Linked DNA regions of Homo sapiens: regions 1 and 2 are each linked to region 3. The links are contacts of gene promoters, found by promoter capture Hi-C in human tissues and cell types (Jung and others, 2019). All regions are on one chromosome and are shown on one strand. Each heading gives the region's core, a stretch centred on a gene start or on the middle of the fragment in contact. The rest is flanking DNA. Distances are from core to core; before and after follow the strand shown.

Region 1 (2,754 bases), core at 236-2,735, 980 kb after region 3:
GCCTTCCTGTGACACTCACTCCATCCCGGGGACACTAAGCATTATAAAGCTATTCTTTATGCTAAGCCCAATCTAACGCATTCAGACTCAAAGCCACTGAAGTTCAGGGAAGACATAATTGTGTCGTTTGATTTGTTCACCAAAGAGCAGGTCAGATGGAAAGGTTACTGTCCTCTTAAAAATATTCTGACAACAAATTTTTTAAAATTTTAATGTTATCATTTTGCCTTTTTGGAGAAAGGGTTTCTATTTATCAGCGATGATTAAACACTTCTGAAATCTGGAATTACTGACTTTGACCTTTTCTTTATCGGCAGGTAATAAAACGAATGGGCAGATGACAGAAATGTAATTTGAGGATTACAAAATTTATGAGGAGGCAGCACATTGGGGAGGAAAGTGACTATGATTTGAGTGCTAGCAAGGGATGTGGAGAAAGGGAAGATTTAACCAAAATTGTTTCCTTGGACTCTCAGCTTTAGAAATGAAGATGTCAGTGTTTGTGCCCCATCCACTGCCCGGCGCAGTAAAGAAGAGCTCACTGGATGTTTGTGAATAAGGAAGGGGAGAGGGGAATGACCCCATTGTAGGGCAACAATGGAGAATAAATGAGATGATCCCCATAAAACATTGAGTTCAGACCCGACATGGATCCAGCATTCAGCAAATATTGGCTATTATTATTTTTATCACACCATCTCGTGAGTCTCATCATCTCATGAAATAGTGCATGAGAACAGGAATACTGTATGTAAACCATATGTGTGGTGCTGCTTCACATTCATCCTTTTGGTTCAAAACTGCAGATCCCTGATGCGAAGCTGGGCCCCTCTCTTATTCCTAATTTTGCATCCATCAGTGTTGTGGGTTACGTTGGGTCCCCCAAATGATGCGTTCAAGTCCTGACTCCTGGTAGCTGTGAATCTAATCTTATTAAGAAATAGGGCCCTGACAAATGTAATCAAATGAAGATGAGGTCACATTACAGTGGGGTGGGCCATAATCCAATGACTGTGGTCCTTATAAGAAAAGAAAAATTTGGACATAGGCGTAGAGACACGGAGGGGAGAAAGCCATGCAGAGAAAGCAGCAGAGATTGGAGAGATGTGGCCACAAGCCAAGGTATGCCAGGGGCTGCCAGCAGATGGCAGAAGTGGCAGAGGCAAGAAAGGATCTTCTCCTGGAGCAGCAGTCCTCAATCTTTTGGGCACTAGGGACTGGTTTTGAGAAAGACAGTTTTTCCACAGAGAGGTGAGGAGGGGTTGATTTTGAGATGATTCAAGCACATTACATTTATTGTGCACTTTATTTCTATTATTCTTACTTTCTAATACATAATGAAGTAATTCTATAACTCAGCATAGTGTACAATCAGTGGGAGCCTTGAGTTTGCTTTCCTGCAACTAGACAGTCCCATCTGGGGCTGATGGGAGACAGTGACAGATCATCAGGCATTACATTCTCATAAAGAGAGGTGTAACCTAGATCCCTCATATGCACACTTCACAGTAGGGTTCTTGCTCCTATAAGAATCTAATGCCACTGCTGATCTGACAGGAGGTAGAGCTCAGGCTGGTAATGTGAGCCATGGGGAGCAGCTGTAAATAAGATGAAACTTTGCTTGCTCACCCACTACTCCCCTCCTGCTGCGCAGCCCAGTTCCTAACAGCCCATGGACTGATGATACCTGTCCATGGCCTAGGGGTTGGGGACCGCTGCCCTAGAGCCTGCAGAAGCAGCACAGCTGTGCAGATACTCTGATTTTTGACTTCTGGCCTCCAGAACTGTGAGACAATAATTTCTGCTGTTTTAAGCCCCCCAGTTTATGGTTATTTGTTAGGACAGCCCTAAGAAATGAATACAACAGGTGCATTTGGCCCACAGGTATTGGTGTTTCCTATGTTCAGGTGCTCCGGTAAGCAGGACGCATACAGTCCCTGCCCTTGTGCTCATGTGTTGCCATGTGCCAGGCATACAGGGTCTCCCGATGGACACAAGAGACAAGGCCTCAGACATCACAGACCCCACAGCAGAGGGCAGGAAACCAGCACAAATACCCACGTGATTTGGGAAAAGTCCTGCCAGTAAGAAGCACAGCTGAGCTGTGATTGTGTCAGAGGCCGTGACTTAGAGGGGGATTCCATTAAGGAAACAGACCTGACTCTCAGCTGATGGAAGATGGGTGGGGCACATGGAGTTTATTCAGCTTGGTCAATAGGAAGATCTTGTGTTATGGGAAAGTCCATTTTTTTATTCCTTATAGTAAATTAGGGAAAGTAAGGCTCAACAAAGTCCCGTTAGCTTGTACAGAAACAAAAGATAGCGGGATTTTCCCCAGGGGCCTGGCACCAGGAGAGGGTCTCTCAGGAGGATGCTCCACACAGGTAATGAGGCGTTTATGTTTTCCAAAGCTGTAAACAACTTTGAGAAATACTGTTCACTTACGGCTGCAGTTGGAGCTGCATGGAAGGAGGCTGGCAACAGGGTGAGTGCTGTCCTTGTCCATTCTTAGAGAAACCAGGAGCCCTGAGAACCTGTGTCCAGCACAAAATGACTGACAGCTGGTCTCTCCAATCAGAAGATGGCTTCCCCACCCCCAGCACCTCCTGGGTCTCAGGGCGATTTCAGAGATGAACCTTTCTACCTTCTACCAGGTGGGTGGGTCAATGTGAAAGGGGCAACAGTTTTTAATTTGTAGGGTGAAGGTCAATATTAAAAACATGTTTTGCTGGCCATGCAAGGCTCTCCAAATAT
Region 2 (2,817 bases), core at 187-2,686, 950 kb after region 3:
AATTGTTTTAGCAGAGTCTGTCAAAGAGAGAGGCCTCCCAGGGCGGGCAGATTCCATTCTGGTCCAGGCTTTTCAGGGAGGGGGAGAGGAGTCACCTGCTCCATGTCATTCATCTTCCAGGATCCACCAACCGTGAGCCCCCATCTCTGGAAAGCAGTGGAGCGTGGGAATTGCTTTATCTAAACTCACCCGTCTGCTCAAAAGCATGGGCTGTGGGTGGGGGAGCCCCTGGTGCCCCCAACAGAAGAGGGGATGACAAACGAACCTCTCACGTATGTGGGTTCCTCTAAGCACTTAAGCAGGAAAGGATGCATGAGGTTTGCAGATGACAGATTATGCTGGCTGGCTTTCCAAAGCCAAGCTCCGGGCAATGTGGGTGACAGGACCAACTCCCTTCCCTGACAGGGCTGCATGTTACAATGGCACCAGGAGTCAAAGAGTCTTTTCTATTCATTCATTTATTCATTCATTCACTTATTCACTACCATCGCCCAGGTTTCATGCTGAGTCCTCTGGATACCACAGAATGAAAGTTCCTTGTCCTTGAGGGGGACCATACATTCATTCAGTTCATTCCCCATGTGTTAAGCCTGAACAATGGCCCCAAACTTTTTAAGCCCTACTTAAGAACACAACTCAGTCTCTACATCCAGAATAACTCCTGACTCCTAGCCATAATCCAAAGCAGAATGAGATTAGGGTCTTCAGAGACACACATGATGAGATTTCAGACCATGTAGCCCAGAACCCCTCAGAATTTGTTCAAGGATTCCAAAAATGATTCTACAAAATTTCACTGTAATTAAATTTAAACTATTTTTAGAGGTAATGAAAAATCAACACATTCCCAAAGGTGTTAAAGGAAAAGTTTCACACGTCACAGACCAGCAGGCTGTTTCCTGACTGACAGGCCACCTCCTTCCTAGGGCGAACCTGGAACCAAGGCTCTGGCACTCTTCCTGAGGATTCGGGATTGATTAAGTGTGTCGTGGATAAGGAGGGCTGAAGGTACACTCTGGCAGCACTCACACCCTGGGCTCCGTTAATGCTGGGCAAGGGTCAGGCTCAAGTGCATAAAGCTCATTCTCATTACAAGGGAGAAACCAGCAAGCATGGGGTGCGGAGACGCAGCATGGGGTGTGGAAGATGCAGATGTGGTGTGGAGACGCAGTATGGGGTGCAGGAACGCAGCATGGGGTGCAGGGATGCAGTATGCGGTGTAGAGACGCAGCATGGGGTGCGGGGATGCAGTATGGGGTGTGGAGACGCGGCACGGGATGTGGAGACGCAGCATGGGGTGTGGGAGACGCGGCATGGGGTGTGGGGACGCGGCATGGGGTGTGGGGACGCAGCATGGGGTGTGGGAGACGCGGCATGGGGTGTGGAGACGCGGCATGGGGTGTGGAGACGCGGCATGGGGTGTGGGAGACGCAGCAGGAGAAGCAGGAGATTCTGTCACTCTGGAATCAGTTTAAATGGTTACTTAAAACCTGAAGGATTCCTATCGAACTTTCATCTTAATCATAAGGAGCATAAATCTGTCTTCCAAGCCTTGGTACCAATTTAATTGGAAAGAATCTTGGGATTGCAAGGTGGACTTTTTAAAGATTGTTTTTCTTTGTAGCCACATTCTAGGAGAATCGAGACTTTCCTGGCATGTTTCAACTGAAAAAAGCTTTGGAAATAAGGGGGATGCTGAAATGTCTTTCATAATCCCGAATTTTAAAATGTCACGTGCATCAAAATAGCTTCATCGTTTTGCTGTGATAAGTAGATGCTATGCATCTGAACTATTAAGACTAAATTGGATGCCAATACAATACTGATTTAATCTCCCTTAATTACTTTTTCTTATGTTTGCTGTGAAAAACCTTCAAACATACAGCAGAGTACAGGGAAGAGTATAATGATCTCCCACATGCCCACAGTCCTGGGTTTAACCCCCTGTGTGTGTGCTCGCAGTGAGACCAGACTGCATGGATTATGTTCACCGACATATCCCCAGCAGTTTAAGTTCACAATGAGTACTTGCTTAATGAGTGAATGCACTTATTACCAATGTATGAGGGAAAGTTCCTGTATTGGTCTGTTCTCACACTGCAATGAAGAAATACCCAAGACTGGGTAATTTATAAAGAAAAGAGGTTTAACTGACTCACAGTTCTGCACGGCTAGGGAGGCCTCAGGAAACTTACAACCATGATGGAAGTCACCTCTTCACAGGGCGGCAGGAGAAAGAATGAGTGCCAGCAGGGGAAATGCCAGATGCTTATAAAACTATCAGATTCCATGAGAACTCACTCACTGTCACGAGAACAGCATGGGAGAAACCACCTCCATGATTCAATTACCTCCCACCGGGTCCCTCCCACAACATGTGGAGATAATGGGATTACAATTCAAGATGAGATTTGCGTGGGGACACAGGCAAACCATATCAGTGCTGTCATGGCCACAAATCAGGCTGGCAGGGTTCAGATCCTGCCTCTGCTGCTTCTTGGCTGTGTGACCCAGGGCAAGCTCCCTAACTTCTCTAATGGCTCCGTCCATTGATAATCTTTGCCTGAATCCATTATTCCAGTCAGGGCTTAAAAAAATGTATTTTCTAACAATACTTTCCCATTTATTAGCTAAGATTCTTCTCTTAAGCACTATCCCACATCAACCAGGGCTATATATTTCTGATCAGTAAAGAATAATTGGCTAATTCTTTCCCTTTAATTGTTTTTAACAGTAAGAATTTTGTGTTTCCAAGGGCTGTCAATGGATTATTCTTTTCCTCTCTCTCTCCCTCTCTCTCTCATATCTATCTCTTTC
Region 3 (2,945 bases), core at 191-2,690:
TGGCCCTCTGCCGGGAGTCTTGGTGGGGAAGTCACTGTCTTCATCCTCCTGCCCGGGCAGAGTCCAATCCTGTGCCTGGCTCCTCAAGACCGTTGGCAAAGATCCTGGAGGCCTGGGGGTGAAAGGGCTGCTTGGGGGACTTAAGCCCCAAGCTATGGTTCGCCTGGGAGACTGAGCCCCAAGCCATGGTCCTCCTGGCTCTGCCCTTCCACCCCCTCACTGGCTGCCCCTCCCAGGGAGGCCTCACCTGTGAAGTGCTTCCCGCCCCTCTCACCCCCCACGGCTCTCACATGGCCTGGGGCGATTCCAGAGCTGGCCTGGGTCAAGCACCTGCACAGAGCACAGAGCGAAGGCTCGGCATGGTATATCCCCCGCCCCTTGCACCTTTCCCCAGTGAAGGGTGGCACCAGTGTCCTTTCCAAGGCCCGGATTCTGCACTGCCCTCAGCCTGTGGAGGATTAAAAGCAGGGTTTTGCCGTGGTTTCTCAAGGCGTCAGCGGGTCTGCAGAGGATTCCGCCCCATGTCACTTCTCTCAGTGAAAGGTCCCCGCCCAGCGTCTGTCCTCCTTTAAGTGCCCCCCATTTGTTTTTTGTTGTTGTTTTTGTTTGTTTTTTGCAAATACAGACTAACCAGGTAGGCACAGAGGAGTCCTGGCATGGGAAGGGAGCAGTGAAACGCCGGTGGAGAGTCCGGGAGGCCCAGATTCCCTGGAACTTTCCAGTGACTCCTCCGGAGCAAGGGCCTGGCCAGGCAGCAGCTGCGCTGGGCGATGAGGGACCGTTGGGTAATTGGGGGCATAGGACCGGGCTTCGCTGGGTTCGGGGCAGAAGCGCCGAAGCTCCGACCCGGAACGCGGTGACTTCATCAACGCAGAAGCCCGCGCAGCCGAGCAGAGGAGTCCCTCGTAGGCGACCCTCGGACAGACGCTCCTGCGCGGCCCGCGTGGCTCAGCTCCGCCCCAGGAAACTTTTCGCGCAGCCCCCGCTCCATGCGCCCCCACCCAGTCCTTCTTCGGGGCCGCCCCCTCCCCAAAGTAGCTCTCCGGGTCCACTGGGCGCCCCCGTAACCGGGTCGGAACCTCGAACGGCTTCGCGTGCCATCCGGTTACCCTGGCAACACCATCCGGCGGCGCCCGGCGGTCCAATCCTAGCCTGCGGCCTCTCTCGAGCCTTTCGCAAGGTGGGGACCGGGACGCGACCGGGGATGGGGAAGGGGGCTGCAGGAGGCCCCGCCTGCGCTGTCGCCCCTGCTGGGCACAGCGCCCCCCACCACCCGCGGCGACCCCGGCCCCCGCAAGGTGGGGCGGCGAGCAGGAGCCGGGGCCAGGCCAGGGGCTCGAGCTCCCGTTCGAGGGGCGGGGAAGGCGGGTGACGTGAGCCGGGCCGGGCGGGCGGAGTTGGGACCGGCTCCGGGAGGCGGGGGCGAGCGCGCGGAGAGGCAGACGCGAGGAGGGAGGCGGCTGAGCAGCGCGGGCGGCTCTGCGGCGGGCGCGGTGGGCGCGGGCGGCGGGGCCCCGGGATCCCCGCGCGCCTCCTCCGCGCGGCGCCGCCGCCGCGCGTCCCCACGCCCCGCGCTCCACGGCGCCCTCGCCCCGCGCGCCTCTCGTGCCCGCCTCCTGCCAGTCTCCGGGCCGCGGCCGTCTGCAGAGCGAGCGCTCAGACGGAGCCCCCGGGCAACTTGAGTGGCGCCGATCGGCGGCGGAGCCTCTGGCAGAGCCCCCCGACCCGGCAGCGCGGAGGGGACTCGCGTCCGTCCGCGTCGCGTCACCCCAAACCCTAAGCAGCGCCGCCCCATCGGCGCGGAGCTCCGGCTGGAGGCAAGAGCCGCGCGCCGGGAGACACGCACCGTGAGCGGCAGCGCCGCCGGCCTCCCTCCTCGCCGCCCCGGAGGGCGAAGCCGCGGCTCCCCAGCCCTTTGCTGCGCCGCGACAGCGCCGGAACACGCCCCGCCTCGCTGCCGCCTTCGCTGTGCCGCCGGCGGAGGGGGCCGCGAGCCCCGCGCCCCGGCCGGAGGATGTGCGCCCCCGCGGGCCGCCCAGCCTGAGCCATGCGCCCCAACGGCGGCGGCGCGCCGGCCGGCATGGAGCCCCGCGCGGCCGCGCTCTGACTCGCTGTGCGCCCCGCGGCCGGCGGGCGGCGGGAGGCGGCGGACCGAGAGCCGGAGACCGGCGCCGCGGGACGGAAGCGAGCGGGCGCGGGCGCCGCGCAGATGGCCTGGGCGAGCCAGGTCTGAGGCCCCGCTCCCCGAAACGTGACCATGTGGATTCAACAGCTTTTAGGACTCAGGTGAGCGACCCGGCCGGCGCCGGGTGCGTGTGGGCGCGTGGGTGCCAGGCTGGGCGGAAGCGGCGCTTTCCTCTATGTTGCAAATCAAGGGACCCCTCTTCGCTTCCCGCAAGCGGGCAACGGGGTGCACCGGTAGCCGGAAAGGGGCGCCCGCCCGGAGCCTGGAGCAGCACCGCGGCCCTGGCGGGGAGCGGCCGGGTCTCCAGGGTTCCGCGCGTCCGGGGTCGGGGCAGCGGCGCCCGCCCCAGCAACCCGGGAAGTGGGGCCGGCCAGGCGCGCCCGCAGCTCTAGGAGCCAGCAGCGCAGTGTCCTGGCCGGCTGCCCCGGCGCGCCTCCTCCCCGGGGCCCGGGGCGAGGCGCCGGCCGCTGGGCGCGGCGGGCGCGGGGGCCGGGGCTGCCGGGGAAAGCTAAAGCTCCGGGCTCCCAGCGAGAGCTTCGCAGGCGGAGTTGGAGGAAACCACAGCCAAACAGCCACTCCGCTCCCCCTTCTCCTTTCTCGGGGCCCCGGGGCTGAGCAGGGGCCTCCCAGGCTCCCAGCTGCCGACCCAGCTGTTTGCGGGTGACCTCCGGGCCCGACGGGCGCTCACAGCTGGCGGGCAGCTGGGGCGGGAGAGCTGGGGTTCTTGGGGAGCTCCGGCGGCCACCCCGCTGTAAACACA

The links. Contacts are between HindIII fragments. The study calls those that stand out against the background at their distance.
Region 1: a contact is called between a fragment that was not itself captured here and the fragment with the promoter of AJAP1 in region 3, in 1 of the 25 tissues and cell types used here (dorsolateral prefrontal cortex).
Region 2: a fragment that was not itself captured here is called in contact with the fragment with the promoter of AJAP1 in region 3 in 1 of the 25 tissues and cell types used here (dorsolateral prefrontal cortex).

What each region holds. Positions count from the first base shown.
Region 1 is chr1:5,636,231-5,638,984 of GRCh38, forward strand. No RefSeq gene overlaps it. Among named protein-coding and RNA genes, the nearest start is that of MIR4689, 230 kb to the right of the region's middle. The HindIII fragment of the contact is 3,885 bases long and covers 1-2,754 here.
Region 2 is chr1:5,600,517-5,603,333 of GRCh38, forward strand. No RefSeq gene overlaps it. Among named protein-coding and RNA genes, the nearest start is that of MIR4689, 260 kb to the right of the region's middle. The HindIII fragment of the contact is 6,647 bases long and covers 1-2,817 here.
Region 3 is chr1:4,653,169-4,656,113 of GRCh38, forward strand. It overlaps AJAP1 (adherens junctions associated protein 1), which reads left to right and starts at 1,441. Exons shown (of 6, transcript NM_018836.4): 1 at 1,441-2,286. The coding sequence starts at 2,258. The HindIII fragment of the contact is 14,001 bases long and covers 1-2,945 here.